Regions from separate parts of the Homo sapiens genome. Here all the other regions are linked to region 7. The links are contacts of gene promoters, found by promoter capture Hi-C in blood cells and fetal thymus (Javierre and others, 2016). All regions are on one chromosome and are shown on one strand. The core of a region is centred on a gene start or on the middle of the fragment in contact, and the rest is flanking DNA. Distances in the headings are between cores, read along the strand shown. Region 1 holds the start of OSGEP (O-sialoglycoprotein endopeptidase). Region 2 overlaps KLHL33 (kelch like family member 33). Region 3 overlaps TEP1 (telomerase associated protein 1). Region 4 overlaps PNP (purine nucleoside phosphorylase). Region 5 overlaps CCNB1IP1 (cyclin B1 interacting protein 1). Region 6 overlaps PARP2 (poly(ADP-ribose) polymerase 2). Region 7 holds the start of RNASE6 (ribonuclease A family member 6).

Evidence for each region. Contacts are between HindIII fragments. The CHiCAGO score rates a contact against its expected background, and 5 or more counts as called.
Region 1: a contact is called between the fragment with the promoter of OSGEP here and the fragment with the promoter of RNASE6 in region 7, in 6 of 17 cell types (naive B cells, total B cells, M2 macrophages and 3 more). The highest score is 8.8, in naive B cells.
Region 2: a fragment that was not itself captured here is called in contact with the fragment with the promoter of RNASE6 in region 7 in 1 of 17 cell types (naive B cells); the score reaches 6.5 in naive B cells.
Region 3: a contact is called between a fragment that was not itself captured here and the fragment with the promoter of RNASE6 in region 7, in 3 of 17 cell types (naive B cells, total B cells and M0 macrophages). The highest score is 7.6, in naive B cells.
Region 4: a contact is called between a fragment that was not itself captured here and the fragment with the promoter of RNASE6 in region 7, in 1 of 17 cell types (M0 macrophages). The highest score is 5.1, in M0 macrophages.
Region 5: a contact is called between a fragment that was not itself captured here and the fragment with the promoter of RNASE6 in region 7, in 2 of 17 cell types (total B cells and erythroblasts). The highest score is 6.8, in total B cells.
Region 6: a contact is called between a fragment that was not itself captured here and the fragment with the promoter of RNASE6 in region 7, in 1 of 17 cell types (M2 macrophages). The highest score is 6.3, in M2 macrophages.

What each region holds. Positions count from the first base shown.
Region 1 is chr14:20,453,554-20,456,663 of GRCh38, forward strand. OSGEP (O-sialoglycoprotein endopeptidase) reads right to left here and starts at 1,259. Exons shown (of 11, transcript NM_017807.4): 1 at 1,016-1,259. The coding sequence starts at 1,130. It overlaps APEX1 (apurinic/apyrimidinic endodeoxyribonuclease 1), which reads left to right and starts at 1,673. Exons shown (of 5, transcript NM_001641.4): 1 at 1,673-1,841; 2 at 2,025-2,150; 3 at 2,361-2,548. The coding sequence starts at 2,093. RefSeq lists promoters at 1,172-1,616, 1,246-1,783, 1,448-1,782, enhancers at 1,207-1,296, 1,717-1,936 and cis regulatory regions at 1,243-1,573, 1,504-1,659, 1,530-1,571, 1,568-1,573, 1,584-1,616 and 2 more. The HindIII fragment of the contact is 3,687 bases long and covers 1-1,778 here.
Region 2 is chr14:20,427,594-20,430,573 of GRCh38, forward strand. KLHL33 (kelch like family member 33) reads right to left here. Exons shown (of 5, transcript NM_001365790.2): 3 at 2,202-2,980; 4 at 1,909-2,076; 5 at 1-1,808. The coding sequence ends at 1,256. Among named protein-coding and RNA genes, the nearest start is that of KLHL33, 7.1 kb to the right of the region's middle. RefSeq lists an enhancer at 1,401-2,033. The HindIII fragment of the contact is 607 bases long and covers 948-1,554 here.
Region 3 is chr14:20,410,059-20,412,918 of GRCh38, forward strand. The region is part of intron 1 of TEP1 (telomerase associated protein 1); the gene reads right to left. Among named protein-coding and RNA genes, the nearest start is that of TEP1, 2.0 kb to the right of the region's middle. RefSeq lists enhancers at 2,281-2,860, 2,307-2,476. The HindIII fragment of the contact is 788 bases long and covers 1,217-2,004 here.
Region 4 is chr14:20,469,756-20,472,255 of GRCh38, forward strand. All of the region lies in intron 1 of PNP (purine nucleoside phosphorylase), which reads left to right. Among named protein-coding and RNA genes, the nearest start is that of PNP, 1.6 kb to the left of the region's middle. RefSeq lists enhancers at 113-182, 213-342. The HindIII fragment of the contact is 967 bases long and covers 768-1,734 here.
Region 5 is chr14:20,316,796-20,319,740 of GRCh38, forward strand. All of the region lies in intron 4 of CCNB1IP1 (cyclin B1 interacting protein 1), which reads right to left. Among named protein-coding and RNA genes, the nearest start is that of SNORA79B, 5.1 kb to the right of the region's middle. The HindIII fragment of the contact is 1,178 bases long and covers 791-1,968 here.
Region 6 is chr14:20,353,961-20,356,847 of GRCh38, forward strand. It overlaps PARP2 (poly(ADP-ribose) polymerase 2), which reads left to right. Exons shown (of 16, transcript NM_001042618.2): 8 at 125-287; 9 at 849-987; 10 at 1,792-1,855; 11 at 1,937-2,071; 12 at 2,347-2,474; 13 at 2,630-2,729. Among named protein-coding and RNA genes, the nearest start is that of PARP2, 12 kb to the left of the region's middle. The HindIII fragment of the contact is 1,841 bases long and covers 371-2,211 here.
Region 7 is chr14:20,779,494-20,782,619 of GRCh38, forward strand. It overlaps RNASE6 (ribonuclease A family member 6), which reads left to right and starts at 1,775. Exons shown (of 2, transcript NM_005615.5): 1 at 1,775-1,845; 2 at 2,202-2,974. The coding sequence starts at 2,207. The coding sequence ends at 2,659. All of the region lies in intron 1 of LOC107984671 (a long non-coding RNA gene), which reads right to left. RefSeq lists an enhancer at 2,850-2,919. The HindIII fragment of the contact is 1,450 bases long and covers 1,472-2,921 here.

The sequences.
Region 1 (3,110 bases), core at 9-2,508, 330 kb before region 7:
AAACATGGTTTCTCCATGTTGGTCAGGCTGGTCTCGAACCCCGACCTCAGGTGATCTGCCTGCCTTGGCCTCCCAAAGTGCTGGGATTACAGGCGTGAGCCACCACGCCCAGCCGTGTTTGGTACTTTCATCTAATCTTCAAGACCTAATGATACAGGTATTATTCCCATTTTAAAAACAAAGACCAGGCCCGAGCGGTGGCTCATGCCTGTAATTTCCACACTTTGGGAGGCTGGGGTGGGCGGATCATCTGAGGTCAGGAGTTCGAGACCAGCTTGGCCTGGTGGAAACCCCGACTCTACTAAAAATACAAAATTTAGCTGGATGTGGTGGCGCACACCTATAGTCCTAGCTACTTGGGAGGCTGGGGTAGAAGAATCGCTTGAACCTGGAAGGCAGAGATTGCAGTGAGCCGAGATCGTGCCACTGCATTCCAGCCTGGGCGACAGAGCAAGACTCTGTCTCAAAAAAATAAAATAAAATAAAAAATAAAGACCAAATGTCCAAAACAAAAATATTTAATATGAATATAGCAAAGCCAGCCAGTTCTGTCTGACATGTAAGCCGGGAGTCTTTCCACTCTCATCTCTCTACTCATCCTAGAATATTTCAAAAAATAATTTTTTTTTAAAAAGGGAGTGTATATTCAGGGCAACTGGAATCTATACTCCTGCTAAGCGTTTTTTAAACAGAATATTTCGAGTCCATCTCTATTATACTGTTTATCATGCTGTAGTATAAACATCTATTTATATGTCTGACTCCACAGCAGTATAACATCTATTTCTGAATACTTAGCACATAAAATGCGCTCAGTAAAAGGTAAATGAACTCATCAGATCCACGTCCAAGTGCCTGTAACTCTTCTAGTCATCAGCCTTGTGACGTTAATAATGTCACATAATTTCAATGAGACTCGGATCGAAAGCTGCACCTCACTAGTATTTAGGAAGATGGAAGGCTGATTCTGTGCGGGGAAGTGCGCGGAAAACTCTTAAGTCCCCTACTCACCAACCTGTGCCAGGAGGCGTGACGTAAGTCCGCCGCGGGTTCGCCAGCACCTTGCCATCCCGCACCACGCCCACGCCAATCTTATTGGCGCTGCCTTCAAAACCCAGCACCGCCGGCATGGCGGAGGCTGGGAGAAAACGCCGACAGGACTCCTGGCAATGTCAGGAGCTGTGGAGGTCCTCACTAGTCCGCGCTGGGCCGCAGCTTTCCGGAGCGCAGAGGAAGCTGGCCAGCCTGCAGATAGCACTGGGAAAGACACCGCGGAACTCCCGCGAGCGGAGACCCGCCAAGGCCCCTCCAGGGACCTGTCTTCCTAACTGCCAGGGACGCCGAGCCAACTCTGTGCCTTACATTCGTATCCGTTTTCCTATCTCTTTCCCGTGGTCCAGCCCAGCCTTCTCCACTGTTTTTTTCCCTCTTGCACATAGTTAGAATCTTAAGTCAGTGTCACACAATGTGCTGTGCATCTGGCACAACGATAAACAGCCCGAGGGAGGGTTGGGGACCTAAGTGTCCTAGAGAATTAGAGGAGGGAGGCGAGGCTAAGCGTCTCCGTCACGTGGTGTCAGACAGACCAATCACGCGCATTCTTCGGCCACGACAAGCGCGCCTCTGATCACGTGACCAGGTCCGCTACCCACGTGGGGGCTCAGCGTGCACCCTTCTTTGTGCTCGGGTTAGGAGGAGCTAGGCTGCCATCGGGCCGGTGCAGATACGGGGTTGCTCTTTTGCTCATAAGAGGGGCTTCGCTGGCAGTCTGAACGGCAAGCTTGAGTCAGGACCCTTAATTAAGATCCTCAATTGGCTGGAGGGCAGATCTCGCGAGTAGGGTACAAGGCACTATGAAATGATCTAGTTTCGTGGGTGAGGGGCTGAAGGGCCTATGATGCACGGAGGCGGGGAAAGGATTTAGAGATAACGTGGTTTGAAAGGCGGGACCTGGTGCGGGGACGCTCTTGGGAGGAGTCTTCTCCCCAGCCTTAGCTGGTTTCATGATTTCTTTGCGTCTGTAGGCAACGCGGTAAAAATATTGCTTCGGTGGGTGACGCGGTACAGCTGCCCAAGGGCGTTCGTAACGGGAATGCCGAAGCGTGGGAAAAAGGGAGCGGTGGCGGAAGACGGGGATGAGCTCAGGACAGGTAAGGGAATGAAATCAGCCCTTCTTCCTAGAAGCTGCGGCGGGGGTGTTTGTCATTCCCTTGATGTACGGTAAGTACGGGCCGACTCATTTTTGCAGGGGTTTGTGAAGAAGTCGCAGGAACCGTAGGCTTTCGTTGGGTCTATAGTTAACGCCGGATCGCAGTTGGAAACCACCAGCTTTTTGTCAGTATATATTACTCATTTTATAGAGCCAGAGGCCAAGAAGAGTAAGACGGCCGCAAAGAAAAATGACAAAGAGGCAGCAGGAGAGGGCCCAGCCCTGTATGAGGACCCCCCAGATCAGAAAACCTCACCCAGTGGCAAACCTGCCACACTCAAGATCTGCTCTTGGAATGTGGATGGGCTTCGAGCCTGGATTAAGAAGAAAGGATTAGATGTGAGTGGAATTTGAGGGAAAGAGACATTTTTTAGTATTGAATGGTCTTAGGGTTTAGTCACCCCTTTTCTCCGTTTAGCCTTCAGGCTGTTTTATTTTTCTCCTGCCCGTAGTTTTCTGTGGGGCTTCCCCAGTCTTGCCAGTTGTATTTCCTAAATGTCTGTTCCTTCACTTCCATTGCCATTTTCTTTTTTAGTGTTCTCTCCTCTTCCCAGAATGTTGCAAAAACCTCTTCACTATACTTCCTCCATTTTATCTTCCTGCATTGCATTCCATATGAAGCATGTCCTCCATTCCATTAACCATAGCTTAAAAATCTTAGCTTGCTATCCACTGCCTATAGAAAAAACACATCTCCTTGGCATAGCATGTAAGACTTTCTTACCTCTCTATATTTGTTTTCATTTATCTAGCTTAGAATTGTTTGAATATTGTGCTGCTTGACTCGAACTCCTTAGGCCAAGAGACTGTTTAACCCGTGCGTATCTATGACTTAGCATATAGATTATTCAATAAATGTTCTGCTGAATTGATAATACGTTTTCCACCTTTCTTTTCACTT
Region 2 (2,980 bases), core at 1-2,500, 350 kb before region 7:
CTTCCTGAGCAGAGTTCACTGCTCTATCCTCTGGGCTCTCGCAAGACTCGTCCATACATGTAAGTCCACTCAAAATTTGTATTTGTTTATGTCTATCTGCTGGTCAGGAGCTCTCTGACCTCTGTATCTTGGTGCCTCCTACAGTGCCTGCCACACAGTAGGTAATTAATAACTGTGTGAGGGAGAAAGAAGAGAAAGAAAAAAGAGAGGCAGTGGGGAGAGCAGGATGGGGGAAGAGAGAAAGAGGAAGCACCTGACTACCTTCCCTGGCCAAGATAAAGGGAAATGGATTTAAAAATAACTCTGGGGGAAAGGAACTGAAAGGGGGAAATGACTTTTCTGAGTCTTGTCTGCTTCTCACTCTTCTCTCCCCCCACATCCTCTCACCACTTGAGACCTCAGGCAACAACGGTCTCATTTTCACTCCTGATTCCTCAGTTTGCCCAAAAGAAAGAAGGCACACAGGCTTCTGACTTCTTCCACCCCATCTCCTTAAACCTCAGATCATCTGTTTTTCCACTGTGGGCCTCTCCCTCCTTGGCCTCTGCCCCCATCATCTTTCCCACACAACACTCCTGCCACATGGCCCTGGGGGGCCCGTCAGGCCTCTCAGGCCCCTGTGCCGTGCATGTCCATGTGGGAGCTTCTGCCTCAGAAGGAAACCAAGAGGTTCTCAGGGGCAGCCTGTGGTGTCTCGCTGGGAAACGCTAGACCAGGCCTACAAAGTTACCCGGGAGAGAATATTGTTAAGAAGGTTTAGGCATCCCAGGGGTGGGAGAGGAGAAAGGAGCAAGTTCCAGGAAAAAAAGGGCTGAACGATTTACAGTCCTTACTCCTACACTCCTCAAACTCTTTCATGGATGGCCATTCCACATTTTTCCCATGATCCATGGGTCAGAACCATTTTTCCAACTGTCCTCCCATGGTCTCTACACTTTGGCTACTGAAGCTTCTTAACTCTCTTTCAAACTAGATGCCCTTTCCCTAAGAATCCCTAAGCCTTGTGGAGTTGCTCCCGAGTCTCCTTTCCTCACCTGGGTATTCAGCTGCCTCCCCTTTCCCTATATGTTTTCCCTAGGAGTTCTGGAACCACCATTTCCTCAACGGAGATCATACGTACAAAAGCAGTTTACAATGCACAGTGTGAGAATAAAATACTACCAAGAATAAAGCCTCTTTTCACTCCCCACAATCTCTGTCCTTCTCTCAGGCTATTTCTTATGCCCTCCTCTCCCCATACACTGTTGCTCCCTCTTCACCCAGCAGGTTTGGTTTGGTGTGGGGTGGGAACCAAAGCTATGTGCTGCACAGCGGGCAGTGTCAGGATGCAGGCAGGCATCTCAGCCCGAGGCCTTGGCAGAGTTCCCAGGCAGAGCCATCGGCCCAGGCCAGGACAGTAGGCATGGATAAGGTGAGAGAGGGCATAAGTACGGTGACTGTAGCCCCCGAGCACCAGTAGCTCCCCCTGCAGCACAGCACTTGCAGCCCCCACATGGGGGGAGGGTAGGGGTGCCAGGTGAGTCCAGCTATCAGTCCTTAGTTCATAGGCCTCAAAGCTTAGCAGGTCCTCAGTCTCACCCAGCCCACCTGCCACATACAACCTCCCACCCAATGCAGCCATGACATGGCCAGCCCGAGGTACCCCCATAGGGCTCAGAAACGTCCCTGGCTTCTCAAGTTTGGGGTCATAGTGCATCAGTGAGGCCAGGTATTGGCCAGTCCCACCACAGCCACCGCTCACGTACAACTGGCCCTCCAAAATCGCAGCTGCGTGGGCAAAACATGGTGCTGGAAGTGCAGGTGCTGGCCTAAGGGAGAACAGGACACAAGATAAGGCAACTAGCATCTTCAACTCTCCTTCTATTCCAAGTCTCCTAATCTCTCCCAGATGCCCCCTTGCCTGCTTACCTCCAGACATTGAGCTCAGGGTTGTAGGTCTCCACAGAGTCCAGGGCAACATCATTGTGTCTTCCACCCAGGGCATAAAGTTTTCCATCCAGTGCCACCAAGGAGAAAAGGCTTCGAGCCTGGGACAAAGGAGCCATCTCCTCCCAGTCCTCTTGACTGGGCTCCCACCTGGACACAGTAGGACAAGAGATTGGAAGAGGGACTCTGGGCATCCGTGGTTGGCTAGGCCAGCAATTTCTCTCCCTGCCCACCTTAGGGCCTGCCACACCCTGCCCACTCCTAGAAGCTTATACCTGAGAGTTGAAGCCAGGGTGTTGGAGTGACTGTAGAAATCTTGTCCCCCACACACATAGAGTTCACTTCCTGCCAGGCTTGCAGCCCCATGCCGGAAGCGTCCGGGGGCAGGCAGGGCAGGCAGCTGCCCCCACTCAACAGTTCGTACCAGTCCCACGCCACAGCGGAAGGCCCGGGCCCACCACACTGCTCGGGATGGTTGTCTTAGGGCCATGTCTGGTCTGAGCCCATCCCCGCCAATCACTACCAGTGCCCGGTCAGGCTCCCTCCGTCTCTCTTGGCCTGGAACATCAGCCTCTACCATCAGCTGGTGCAACAGATCTGGGGTCAGGGGTGGAAGTAGCCCGGCTGCCCGCACCCTCCGCAACTCCCTGGTGGACATGCGGCCAAAGCGGACACATCGCAGCAGGGCCTTGGCCTCTGACTCCTGGGTCTCGGGGTTGGCAGCCAGCCAACACCGTGCAGCCACAAAGGCCTCAAACTCCTCCTGCACATGGAGCTCATCACTATCCAGGAGCTCAGCCAAGCAGGCAGCTGGTAAAGAAGGGAAAGCAGGACACAAGGCTACAGCAGGCAGGTGGGTGAGGAGGTAGTGACGGGCTTTGCTCCAGAGCCTCTCCAACCCAGGGGCTTCCGCCATGGGGAACAGGGCCAGGCAACGGGCAGGGCTGAGGCCCCGTGCCAAGCCTTTCTGACACAAATCCAAGCAGGAAGAGCTCTGGTACTGCAGAGCAGCCTGGGCAGCTCTCAGTAGCCCTGGCCACCTTGCCCGCACAAC
Region 3 (2,860 bases), core at 361-2,860, 370 kb before region 7:
CCTACCTCACAGAGTTGTTATAGAAATAAATGAGAAAAAAATATTAGGCACTTTGAGCATTGCCTGGCACTAAGTGTTCAATATAGAAGCTATTATTATTTGTTATTATTATCCAGTAAACTACTAAATTCTATTGATTCTACTCCCTCAGTGTCTCTCAGATCTATCCAATTCTCTCCATTCCTCCTACCACCACCTTTGTTGAAACCCTCTAATCCATGTGGTGACATACTGTATATAGATTTGTCTAAAGGACCTCCCTGCTAGAGCCAGATGTGGTAGCCTGCAATCCCAGTGACTCTCAGAGGCTGAGGCAGGAGGATCACTTGAGCCCAGGAGTTTAAAACCAGCCTGAGCTACATAGTGAGACTCCTTTTTTTTTGAGACAGAGTCTTGCTCTGTCACCCAGGCTGGAGTGCAATGGCACGATCTTGGCTCACTGCAACCTCCGCCTCCCAGGTTCAATCCATTCTCCTGCCTCAGCCTCCCGAGTAGCTGGAATTACAGGCGCCCGCCACTATGCCCAGCTGATTTTTTTTTCTTTTTTTTTTTTTGTATTTTTAGTAAGAGACAGGGTTCCACTATGCTGGCCAGGCTGGTCTCGAACTCCTGACCTTGTGATCCACCCACCTTGGCCTCCCAAAGTGCTGGGATTACAGGTGTGAGCCACTGTGCCTGGCGGACTCCTTTTTTTTTAAGCATGTTTGCTTATTAGCCCACTTGCTAATTGTTTCTCCTTTGTGGTTTTTTTTTTTTTTTTTTTTTTTTTGCTTTTTGTTTTTTGAAACGGAGTCTCACTCTATTGCTGGCTGGAGTGCAGTCGCACAGTCTCAGCTCACTGCAACCTCGACTTCCCGGGTTCAAGTAATTCTCCTGCCTCAGCCCCCCAAGTAGCTGGGATTACAAGTGCCTGCCACCACACCCAGCTAATTTTTGTATTTGTAGTAGAGACAGGGTTTCACCATGTTCATCAGGATGGTCTCAATCTCCCGACCTCATGATCCACCCACCTCAGCCTCCCAAAGTGCTAGGATTACAGGCGTGAGCCACCGCACCCAGCCTAATTGTTTCTCTTTACTGAAATACAACTCCTTAAGGTAAGGGCTCCTTTGTCTTGCTCCCCTCTGCATCTTCAGCATCATACACAAAACCCGACTTCCGGTCACCTCCCAGCATCATCTCTCACTAACACCCCGATCTAACCCTCAGCACTCTAAGCTTCAATCATACAAATTTTATTTAGCTTATTAATTGCCAAGGTATCTCTTGACTACGGGCCTGTGCACAGGCAGATCCCTGGAACACTCTTTCTTCTACCAATACCACCCCTCCTTTACAAGGCCAAATGCTACTTTCCTCTCACTCTACAGACTTCAGTTTCATCAACTCCTCCAAAAAGCCTGTGCTGACACCAAGCCCCAGTCTGATTTAGGTGGCCTTCTCCTTGTTTTCACAACACCCATATGTCCCCTATCATAGAGCACATCACCTGTTTGTCTTTCTTCCCAATAGACCATTAAGTTCCTGAGGAGAGAGACCCTTTTAGCCTTGTTCCCACAATTGCTGGTCAGCGGGATTCAGAGGCTTTTGAGAATCTGGTAAAAGCTATGGAGCTTTTTCACAGAAAAAAAAAAAGTATATACTGTTTTGTGCTCAATTTTCAGAGTGTCTATGAAGCCCATTTATGGACCTCCCAGGATCTCCATAAACTGAAAATTAGAAACCTCTGCCTAACAGAATGCTTGAATTATACCATCAGGAACCTATTTTCTGGCTGGGTGTGGTGGCTCACACCTGTAATCCTAGCATTTTGGGAGGCTGAGGTGGGAGAATCACTTGAGGTCAGGAGTTCAAGACCAGCCTGGGCAACATAGTGAGACCTCTATTTAAAAAAAAAAAGGAATGTATTTTCTTACTTATTTGGACAAAGGCTAATCTCTCATTCATATGTAAATATTTTGGGAATAATATTGTTAAGTCAACCACCTAAACTTAGTGTGAAAAAGCTTAGGGACAAAAGTACAGAACACTTCCAAGAAGACCTGAATGACTAACAATCCAGGGCCAAAAAGGACAACAATATCTCACTGGACGTCAGTGTGACAAACACGTAAAAAATGATGGCTTCTGTGCCCAATACACTTTGCTCATGTCGTTGCCCTATATAAGCCCCCAAGGAAAGGAGTGGGGAAACTCAGAATTGACTCAGATTTTTTTTAAAAGAGATCTCAAGCCAAAAATAAACAGAAAAATAAGGACAGTTTATTTGAGCAACATAGTGAGACTGTCCTATCCTTAAAAGGACAGTCTCACTATTTTGCTCATTTTATTGTTTTGCACCCTGGAGTTTTTGAAAGGAGATTCGGCTGAACCACAAATGGAAAGTTAAAGTTCCGTCCCCACTTCCATCTCTAGTTCCCTTCTCTGGAAGTAAACATTGCTCACAGTTTTATACTAACAGTTTCACAGTTTCTATGCATATGCAAATACATGCCTTCACCATCACCACTGCTTTTGCTTTTGCTTTACACAAACAGGATCATAAGTTAGATGCTATTCTGCACTTAGTATATCTCAGAGACCTTGCCCTGTTAACACATTAATACCCACCTCACTCTTTCCTTTTTTTTTTTTTTTTTTTTTTGAGGCGGAGTCTGGCTCTGTTGTTCAGCTCACTGCAATCTCTGCCTGCCGAGTTCAAGCGATTCTCCTGCCTTAGCCTTCCGAGTAACTGGGATTACAGGCGCCCACCACCATGCCCGGCTAATTTTTTTGTATTTTCAGTAGAGAGGGTTTTCACCATGTTGGTCAGGCTGGTCTCAAACTCCTGACCTCAGGTGATCCCCAACCTCCGCCTCCC
Region 4 (2,500 bases), core at 1-2,500, 310 kb before region 7:
CCGGAGCAGGAAGGGGACAGGTCGGTGCGGTCTAAGCTACTCCGTAAAAGCAGCCGTTGTGTGTCTCCGTGTGTGTGTTAGGGGAACAAGTGGAGAGTGAGTATATGTATATATCCCTCACTCCATACCAGGAGGAGGTCTCCTCACCCCCTGCGCTCTTCATAAATTCCCATGCTAGGGTCTGGGTAAAGCTGCGAGGTACTTTTGGTGCTCAAATTCGGAGTTCCTCCTTTAGAGGCAAGATTACTCACCTCCTTTGCCAGTTGCACTCCTCCCTTCCTTCCAGACTGGCAGTATGATTAACTCGGTGGGAAGTGACTGCTAAGTGGAGACGGAAATCAGTCACCGAACTGAGCAACAGTCCTGTGCTCACTTCCCCCACCCCACGCCTTTGAAAACTCTTCTCTCGGCTTGGGTCCTGGATATCCCAGTCCAAGTGACCTGCATTAGGCATCACAGTTGCTTTTGGATGCCCAGGGAGCCAGGGTGTTCTTGAGGGGACTGATAGCCAATGAGGAAGTGCTGTGAGATGTGGCTAGACATGCCATGTGGCGGCAGCTTCACACATTCATTTCCTTTGCACCTTTTGGGGATGCCATTTGATTAACATTTTACCAGCTTAATTGCTTCTCTCCATTGTCCTGTGGCTCCGTTGACCAGCCCCCAACCTACCTGATCCAACTGCTTCCCTGAGGGTAGCCTGGTGTATTGTGCAATCATGTCTGGTTTCCCGGGCTCTGCTTTCCAAGTAAAAAATTTCCTGTGAAAGCTTGGTTAGTTGTGTTCAGCTCTGTCACACCTCATTGCCACCTCTGAAAGCAACGTTTGGTCTTCCCAGATGGATGTGAGAGAACTGGACTTGGAACTGGGAGAAAAGTAACACGGGTTGATTCTTGCTAGTGTAGGGGTTCTGGGTAAGTGCCCTGAGGTTTCTGAAGAGCAAAGATCCTCGGTGGAGAGAAAGGAAACTGGGAGGAGGCAGGGAGGGGGAAGGACAGGAAGAAGACCACAGGCAGGTGGAAAGCAGGAGAAAGATTCAAATACTTTGTGTAACAGAGCCATAGGTCTTTGGAAGTTGTTAGCAAGTATTCAATTCATTTTCAGATTGAGCCTATAAGATAGATGGGGCCAATTTACATCCCTTGTTTATACCTGAGAAAATAATTTAAAGCACAAATTACATGCCTAAAAAGACAATATTGGGACTAGAATCTAGGTCGAATTCTGCTTCCCTCCAGACCAGCAATTCCTAAACCTGGTTTTATTTTATTTTATTTTTATTTATTTATTTTGGAGTCGGAGTCTCGCTCTGTCTCCCAGGCTGGAGTTCAGTGGAGCGATCTTGGCTCACTGCAACCTCTGCCTCCCGGGTTCACACCATTCTACTGCCTCAGCCTCCCGTGTAGCTAGGACTACAGGGGCCCGCCACCACGCCCGGCTAATTTTTTTTTTTTTTTTTTTTTTTTTGTATTTTTAGTAGAGACGGGGTTTCAACATGTTAGCCAGGATGGTCTCGATCTCCTGACCTCGTGATCCGCCCACCTCGGCCTCCCAAAGTGCTGGGGTTACAGGCATGAGCCACCGCGCCCAGCCCCTAAACCTGGTTTTAAAATCAAAATTACATGGGCTTCAGAATCTGTTTTTTGTGGGGGTTTTGTGTGTGTGTGTGTGTGTGTTTTTTATAGGGTCTCACTCTGTCACCAGGCTGGAGTGCCAGAATCTGTTTTTCTAACAAGCTTCTGCTGAGAATTTGTGTAGTCAGTCCTGGTTTAACCTTTGACAACCAGTACTGTGGACTGGGTCTGCTTTTTTGTACAGCAGTTTATCTAGTTTTTTGTCTGGAATTAACCCCCTTGTGATCCAGGGAGCTAAGAATGGCACGTAGACCTCTACCAGGGGTGGTCCCATTGTGTTTTATTGGTTAAAACAAAAAAGAAATGTAGCCCTTAAGTCTTTGGCTGAGGAAGGAACTGGAGGAATGAGGGTTCAAAAGGAAATTTGAGTTTATCTCTGCCTTCATAGTAGTTGGTCTTAATTACATTTTGAATGTCTTTGGGGAACAGGTAAGGTAATAAGGGGGATTTTACTAGGTGGGCACCACCCTCAGGAAGGGCTTAATCCCATTTTGAGTACTCTTCTTGGGCTCCCTCCTGGCCAAGCCCTTTTACCCTCCCTAATTTGATTATTTCCTTGCACTTCCCCGTACACTCTGGCCCCTTCCTCTCTAAACCTTTGTCATAAGGATAAGTATGCAGCTTGCCAGTGTTCAGTGGATCCAACACTGGAGTTGGGCCTGTTAGTAGAAACAGGCTTTATTAACTTTTGCCAGGCTCTAGAATGGAGGTAGTTTCATATCAGACTTGTAGTGGGCTTGATTCAGAAAGAAGGGTGGCTGAGTAGATGGAAGAGCATAGTATGGCCTTTCCCTCTGTGCCAGCTTCTCCGTCCCTGCTGCCTCAGTATACCTGCCAGCCTTTTTGCACCGAAGGTCATTTGTCTG
Region 5 (2,945 bases), core at 130-2,629, 460 kb before region 7:
CTTGCTAACGTCAAAAATAATATATACGTGGGCCAGGCTCAGTGGCTCAAGCGTACAATCCCAGCACTTTGGGAAGCCAAGGCAGGCGGGGTCCCTTCAGGTCAGGAGTTCCAGACCAGCCTGGCCAACATGGTGAAACCCAGTCTCTATTAAAAATACAAAAATTAGCCAGGCGTGGTGATTCAAGCCTCTAATCCCAGCTACTCGGGAGGCTGAGGCAGGAGAATCACTTGAATCCGGGAGGCAGAGGTTGCAGTGAAGTGAGATCGCATCACTGCACTCCAGCCTGGGGGACAGAGCAAGAATCTCTCTCATAACATGTATATATATAGGCTGGGCGCGGTGGCTCACCCCTGTATAATTCCAGCACCTTAGGAGGCCAAGGCGGGCGGATCACGAGGTCAGGAGTTCGAGACCAGCCTAACATGGTGAAATCCCATCTCTACTAAAAATACAAAAAATTAGCTGGGTGTGGTGGCGGGCGCCTGTAGTCCCAGCTACTCAGGAGGCTGAGGCAGGAGACTCGTTTGAACCCGGGAGGCGGAGCTTGCAGTGAGCCGGGATCGCGCCATTGCACTCCAGCCGGCGACGGACTCCGTCCCAGAAGGAAAAAAAAAAAAGTTGCCTTGGCCCTCCAGGTCGATAGAAAAGAACACTCGCACACCTTTATCCCAATAGCCCCGCTGAGTGAGTTTCCTCAGGTATGTCACCTGGCAGCCACAGTTAAGATTAAGAGGCCTATTTTACATCCGGCAGAGTAGGGGGCAGCGGGAAAGCAGAGGAGCTGGGAAGCTTTAAAGCTGAGCCCTCTCTCACGCAGCAGAGGCGCAGCTAATTCCGAATCTTCCACCAGCTGGGAGTAAGCGCCAATCTAACTTCTGTACAAGCTGCGTGAGGGGCAAGTTTTAGAGAAACAGACCCACAGAAATTACACTCTGGAATTTTCAGCCAGCTTTCCACGCTCAGTAGAGAAAATAATAGTAACAAATGATACTTAATCTGAGGCTGAAAGAAAAAGCGCGGAAAAACTCCGTTGCCTCCACAGCTCCACAAGCGAAGATTCCAGGATTCTCTGCGAGCGAGTGCTTCAGGGAACTACGCCAGAGCGCGCATGCGTGGGGTTGCCCCGAAGCATCCTGGGACCTGCCAGGCTGAGGGAGTTGCGGGCCGCAGCTCCGGCTAAGAATCGGGAGAAATTCCCAGAAACAGAGTGACAGCTGTAATTGGACAGCTGGCACCTCCATGTTGAGGTAGTCCACCATTTTATTTTTTATCCACCTTGGAATAGACATCTTTCCACTCTCACACATCCTCTATACACATTTAAGGAAATTATAATTTTCCTTGAGTCTGCATTACAAACATGCATTACAGCTCTTTAAATTAAGCGATAGTGGGCCGGGCGCGGTGGCTCACGCCTGTAATCCCAACACTTTGGGAGGCTGAGGCGGGCAAATCACCTGAGGTCAGGAGTTCCCGACCAGCGTGGCCAACACGGTGAAACCCTCTCTCTACTAAAATACAAAAATTAGCTGGGCGTGGTGGTGGACGCCTGCAATCCCAGCTACTCGGGAGGCTGAGGCAGGAGAATCACTTGAACCCACGAGGCAAAGGTTGCAGTGAGCCGAGATCGCACCATTGCACTCCAGCCACGGCAACAAGAGCGACCCTCCGTCTTTAAAAAAAAAAAAAAATTATTTAATTAATTGATAGTATTGAGGGTCAGAACTTTGAGGTGACCTACCTGCGTGCTCTCCTGGAACTGCTAGCAGTGTTTAAATGATTGCACTGTGCCAGTTTTACTCTAATGCTGTTGCCTGTCATTTTCTTTGCCCTTCTGTGCTTACCCATAGCAGCTGCTTTAGGTAATTATTTTCTGCTTAATCTATATGGATCTGTTAGAATTCAGATTAAAAATTAACCTGAAGAGGAAAGCTAGACGGGTCCTCAGGATATAAACCTTAATGAAGCTTTTTTTTCTTTTCCAGATAGGGTCTCACTCTGTCGCCCAGGCTGGAGTGCTGTGACGCGATCTCGGCTCACTGCAACCTCCGCTTTCCGGGTTCAAACGATTCTCCTGCCTCAGCCTCCCGAGTGGCTGGGATTACAGGCACATGCCACCACACCCCGCTAATTTTTGTATTTTTAGTAGACAAAGGGTCTCGCCATGTTGGCCAAGCTGGTTTCAAACTATTGACCTCCAGTGATCCACCCACCTCGGCCTCCCAACGTGCCGGGATTACAGGCGTGCGCCACCATGCCCAGCCTTATACCGTCTTTTGTAGCCATCTTTCCAGATGTTGTGAACCTATTATGAATTAGTAACAGATGCAATTAGCCACGCAGTGGACATCAAACCCTGCAAACCCCTGAGTAGTGCCAAACCATAATATCAAATCTTTTTCCTTCAAACAAAAAACTGTCAAAAACTGTGCAACTTCCTACAAGGTTTGTCATCTGTTTCGGAGTAATTAGGCCTTTGTACATTTCCTAAAATATCTTCTGATAACTTTAAAGTGGTAATTTAATTTTGGTATAAACCAGTTCCAAAAAAAGGAGATCTTCATGTGTGAACCATATACTCCCTAACATCTGTTTTTGGCTGTTTGAGCCTTCTGTGTGAATTCTGGTTTTAACTATGCCAAATGTAGAAATATTAATACAAAAAATAGTACAACTCATTTAAAGTTGAAAAATGCAAAATATTCTAATTTGACTAGTACCTAACTTTGTGATCCTAGCCAATTCCCTTTGCACTGCAATATGATCACTTCCTGGAGATGTATCTAAGTTAATAAATACTTAACATTAATTCATTTTAACAACATGTACTGCAAATATGCTACAATTTATCCATTCTTCTAATAGACATTGATTGCGGGTTTTTACAATTAAAAACAATACTGCAATGAACATTCTGTACATGTCTCCTTGAGTCCACGTGC
Region 6 (2,887 bases), core at 41-2,540, 430 kb before region 7:
TATTCCCTAGACAGTGCAATATAAAAACTTTACAAAGCATTTACATTGTATAATATTGGGTGTTATAAGGAATCTAGAGATGATTTCTTAGATTGTCTTGTGTTTTGTTTGTTTTTTGCTATAGGATGAAGAGGAAACAAAGAAAGAGGAATCTCTTAAATCTCCCTTGAAGCCAGAGTCACAGCTAGATCTTCGGGTACAGGAGTTAATAAAGTTGATCTGTAATGTTCAGGCCATGGAAGAAATGATGATGGAAATGAAGTATAATACCAAGAAAGCCCCACTTGGTAGGACTTCACATTTTCTTCTGCATTCTCTCCTTATAATTCCTAGCTCCTTTAATGGATACTTTATTATCATTATGATTTAAAGCTTGCTCATAGTACTGAATGAAGAAAATGGGATTTGGGGTGACAGGTTGTATGGAGGGAAGAGGAACTATTTTGAAAGTTGAGGCTGGGTGTGATGGGTCATGCCTATAATCCCAACACTTTGGGAGGCCAAGGCAGGTGGATTGCTTGAGCCCAGGAGTTTGAAACCAGCCTGGGCAACATGGTGAGACCCCATCTCTACTAAAAATAGAAAAATTAGCCAGGCATGGTGGTGTGTGCCTGTGATCTAGCTACTTGCGAAGCTGAAGTGGGAGGATCACCGGAGCCCAGGAGGTTGAACTGCATTTAGCTGTGTTTGTGCCACGGCACTCAGCCTGGGCAACAGGAGTGAGACCCCATCTTAAAAACAGGAAAAAAAAAAGTTGAAAGATGAAAGTCTTTTTTAGGGAAGGATGTTAAGTACAGTTCACTAGATGGGATCCTAGTTTGGAGTCTGATCTCTGGGTGGGCCTGCAGGGAAGCTGACAGTGGCACAAATCAAGGCAGGTTACCAGTCTCTTAAGAAGATTGAGGATTGTATTCGGGCTGGCCAGCATGGACGAGCTCTCATGGAAGCATGCAATGAATTCTACACCAGGATTCCGCATGACTTTGGGTAAGGCCTGTGCTGTTACTTCACTTTGTTCTTCTACCTATACATATCCCCTGTATCCATCAGCAGCAGCTATAATCTTTTAAATCTTTTATTCCTAAGAAAATGATCGTCTTGAATAGGTACAGAAACAAAATGATATATAGGTAGCCTATTTAATCAGCTTACAAATATGGGATGCAATCTCCCGGCTTGACCACAGCCATATTCTCTGACAAAGTGGAAGTTACCAACCCAAGAGAGAATGGGTCTAGCTATCCAACCACCCAAGTAAAACACCTTCAGGCATATCACCCCCTTTTCCTATTTGAGTAACTAAAACCACACAAACACCATTTCTGTGAACTCAAGTGATATTAGATAGACAAAATAACATTTTACATTTGTTGATTCTGTTTTCTGGTTTACATCCGATTTCTATTTCTTTTATAGCTTTATAGAGCCCCGTGACCTAGAAATAACCCTGAGTGGTCAACAGGTCTACCTGTGCTTCTAGATAGAACTGTATCCAACTGTTCCCTGTTGATATCAATATAACTTATTTTTAAATGATTTTATAAAAAATAATTTTAACTCTAGTCTCAAAAGTCAAAATCCACATAGTTCATCTTATACCGAGTATATATTTAATATTATTTTATATATTTGGAAGTTAAGATCTCTTTACAGATCTCTTTCTCTCTCAAATGGAAAACCTGTTTCTCATACCTGTTTTCTAAAGGACCTATCTGTCATTTTCTATTTTTAGTCATGCGCCTTTTAGCCACATGTCAGAAAGCTCATTATGGGTTATATCTCTGTTCTTAGACTCCGTACTCCTCCACTAATCCGGACACAGAAGGAACTGTCAGAAAAAATACAATTACTAGAGGTGAGATATGTATGATTTGAGAAGTATTATATCCCTTATACCAGTGTCCTCCCACATTGATTCTATATCTCATCTTCTCAGGCTTTGGGAGACATTGAAATTGCTATTAAGCTGGTGAAAACAGAGCTACAAAGCCCAGAACACCCATTGGACCAACACTATAGAAACCTACATTGTGCCTTGCGCCCCCTTGACCATGAAAGTTATGAGTTCAAAGTAAGAAAAATGATCATTTATTTTCATATTCTTGCACCCTTAACCACCTCCCCCATCCCACTGTTCTCTAACTACTTCTTGTCAAGAGCAAATTGTCAATTAGGGCAGACTTTTTATGTACTAGGGATTTGGGAAGGCCAAGCTTTTCCTAGCTGCCTTGTAAGACTGTTTGGGAGCAGAAAGGTCTGCCAAGTTATATCAGAATCCCCAAATTCTTCAGTTCAGCTCAGTCTCTTGTAGAGTCTACATCAGCCTTTTTGTCTTATTTTTCACAGGTGATTTCCCAGTACCTACAATCTACCCATGCTCCCACACACAGCGACTATACCATGACCTTGCTGGATTTGTTTGAAGTGGAGAAGGATGGTGAGAAAGAAGCCTTCAGAGAGGACCTTCATAACAGGTCTGAGTCTAGCTTTGCGTTTGGAAAGACACTCCTTGCCCGAAAGTACAGCTGTAGAACTTATAAGAGGGAGTCAGAGGAAGGTGTTGGCTTTTTTATGCTTATGGCCTATCTGTGCAGAACAACAGAGTACAATAATATTGGCTTTTCCTTAGGATGCTTCTATGGCATGGTTCCAGGATGAGTAACTGGGTGGGAATCTTGAGCCATGGGCTTCGAATTGCCCCACCTGAAGCTCCCATCACAGGTTACATGGTGAGTGAAATTGAACTCTGGGAGGAGCACAGGGGAAAGGGATACAGTAATGTTCTCAGTGCTTTTTTTCCTAGATTAGGATTAGATGGTTCCCCTCCCCAAGAGTTAAGCCAGCTCACTGATAACCTTGTCATCTCTTACTGTGTCCCTCTTTCTTT
Region 7 (3,126 bases), core at 525-3,024:
CGCCCGCCACCAGGCCTGGCTAATTTTTTGTATTTTTAGTAGAAACGGGGTTTCACTGTGTTAGCCAGGATGGTCTTGATCTCTTGACCTCGTGATCAGCCTGCCTCGGCCTCCCAAAGTGCTGGGATTACAGGCGTGAGCCACCGTGTCCAACCTGAATCTTTTACTTTTATATAAACTTCAGAGTCAGTTTGTCACTATCCACAAAATAATGTGCTGGGATATTGATTGAGATTGTGCTGAATCTATAGATCAAGTTGAGAGGAAATGACATCTTAACATATTGAGTATTCCTACTCATGTACATGGAATATCTGTGCTTCCTCAATTTCTTTCATTAGAGTTTTAAATTTTTCCTCATACCAATTTTTACATAATGTATTAGATTTACACCTAAGTATTTCACTTTCTTTGGTGCAATATAAATGGTATTGTGTTTTAAATATCAAATTGCAATTGTTCATTGCTGGTATATAAGAAAGCAACTGACTTTTGTATATTAACCTTGTATCCTGCAACCTTGCTATAAACAGACATTATGTTTATTCTGCAGACATTTGGAGCCATAAAAGCATGGGGCAAGAGTGTTGTACTATTATATCTTGTTCAAAAAAAGACTAATCTGGAAGTAATATGTAGAATGGATTGGAAGGAGAAAAAAACAAGGCAAGGAGTCCATGTGGGAGGCTTTTATGTGAGCCCTCCATAAGACAATGAGTTTCTGAATAAGGGTGTTGCAGTACCAGTGAAAAGGTAAGAACAGATTCAAGAGGCAAATATCCTAAATTCGGCCTTCTTCTTCAGGCTTACAGGTCTTTTCATACACAATTCTGTCTTTGGGAGGCGCTTAACACTCTCTTCACCTAACTTCTAATTATTCCTCAAAATTCAGTTCAGGTGTTGTGCCCTCCAACAATCCTTCCCCTCTACTATCTTCCCGTAGCCTCCTGCAGTGTCCTCCATCACACTGTAAGTGCTATTTATATTAATATAATCTACTTGTCTATATACTTACCTGCCTGTCTCTAATCTCTTTCATTAAATCATGAGCTCCTGGCAGATCACGAGGTCAGGAGATAGAGACCATCCTGGCTAACACAGTGAAACCCCGTCTCTACTAAAAATACAAAAAAATTAGCTGGGCGTGATGGCAGGCACCTGTAGTCCCAGCTACTCGGGAGGCTGAGGCAGGAGAATGGCATGAACCCAGGAGGTGGAGCTTGCAGTGAGCAAAGATCGCACCACTGCACTCCAGCCTGGGCGACAGAGCAAGACTCCGTCTCAAAAAAAAAAAAAAAAAAAACTCATGAGCTCCTGAATTTGTGTAGCCTAGTACCTGGCCCAATAAGTATATGCATAAATGAATAATGTATTCACTTCTGTTGTAGGAACTTACAACATTACCAAGTATGTGGCAGGCATTATATCATATTTATGTGACATATTTTCTCTTAAGAAACAGGAATCATAAAGCTTCAAAAAAAAACACTGAAGCCTCAGATGAGGCAGGAAGCACTCATTCCATATCAGGAAGTGATCAGTTCCTCAAAACTGTGAGTTTTCAGTCATGTTGTTTCTTTAAGTTGGTTTAGCCTTCCTGTATACATGTGATAATGATACTGTTTTAAAGAACAGGTGTGAAAGTCTAAGAGTTTAATCCAGACTCTGCACAAGAAGTTAATCTGCCAAACCCTAGGATTCTCCTTCTGAAAGCTCAGAATATTTCTTCCCCTTCCCTATACACACAGGGCTCGAAGGGTTAGAGAAGAAAGGCAGACAACAGCTTCTGAGCTTTGGACTAATCACAGCCTCTGTTCTCAGCAGGAGCCCCAACACTGAGACCAGGTAAGAAAGAAAGCCTCAGGGCTGGAGCGAGTAGAGCAGTAAAGACGGCTGGGAGGTAGTGGTCAGATAGAGGGTAAATATTTCAGGAGGGAAGAGGGAAGAAACTTTCTGATATGACAGCCATCAAATGCATGAGTACTTGTGAAAGAAAATGGGATATGCCAATCAAAGGAGAGGTCATATTTCTGTTTCCTGGGCTTCAGGTTCTTCATAGAATTGTGAGACTATGTGAGAAAGAAGATTTTAAAGGGAGCTGTAAAATCTTAAAAGGCAAAATAAAAATCTAAATAGTTATGATTAAAAATTTTGCTCTTATTGCTTCTCCTACTATAACTATCTTCTCTCTTTCTACACAGAAAAGATGGTGCTATGCTTTCCTCTTCTTTTACTGCTGCTGGTTCTATGGGGACCAGTGTGTCCACTTCATGCTTGGCCTAAGCGTCTCACCAAGGCTCACTGGTTTGAAATTCAGCATATACAGCCAAGTCCTCTCCAATGCAACAGGGCAATGAGTGGCATCAACAATTATACCCAGCACTGTAAGCATCAAAATACCTTTCTGCATGACTCTTTCCAGAATGTGGCTGCTGTCTGTGATTTGCTCAGCATTGTCTGCAAAAATCGTCGGCACAACTGCCACCAGAGCTCAAAGCCTGTCAACATGACTGACTGCAGACTCACTTCAGGAAAGTATCCCCAGTGCCGCTATAGTGCTGCTGCCCAGTACAAATTCTTCATTGTTGCCTGTGACCCCCCTCAGAAGAGCGATCCCCCCTACAAGTTGGTTCCTGTACACTTAGATAGTATTCTCTAAGGCATCCACTGCATTTCCTTTCATTTGACATAGCTTCTGTTACAATTGCATCCATGTTTTCTTTTCTTTTGTTGATTTTCTTGTTCCCGTAGAAGAAAGAAGAAAGGTGTTTGGAGAATTCGAGTGCCTAGGATGCCAGACCAGAGTTGAGACAAAAAGAAATAAGATTATTTTCTGCTTTGTAGTTCTGTACTTTTCGAGAGAAGGGAATAGGGAAGACAGCAAAGAAAGATTCAGATTTCTAACCCTGCAACTTTTGCCAAGCTTTATTGCCCTGTGTTCACAGCAATAAAACCACTTCCTGCTGCATTCTAATGAGTGTGTGTTTGAGATCCGCTTTCAAAGCATTGTTGACCGGTACTCAGAGGAACACTGTTTTGACTTTAAGTCCCTAGAAAACTTTTGAGGCCTCCCTGGGGCCCCACTTCCTTGCCCACAAGAAAGGACAGCGTTTGGGACTTTGGAGC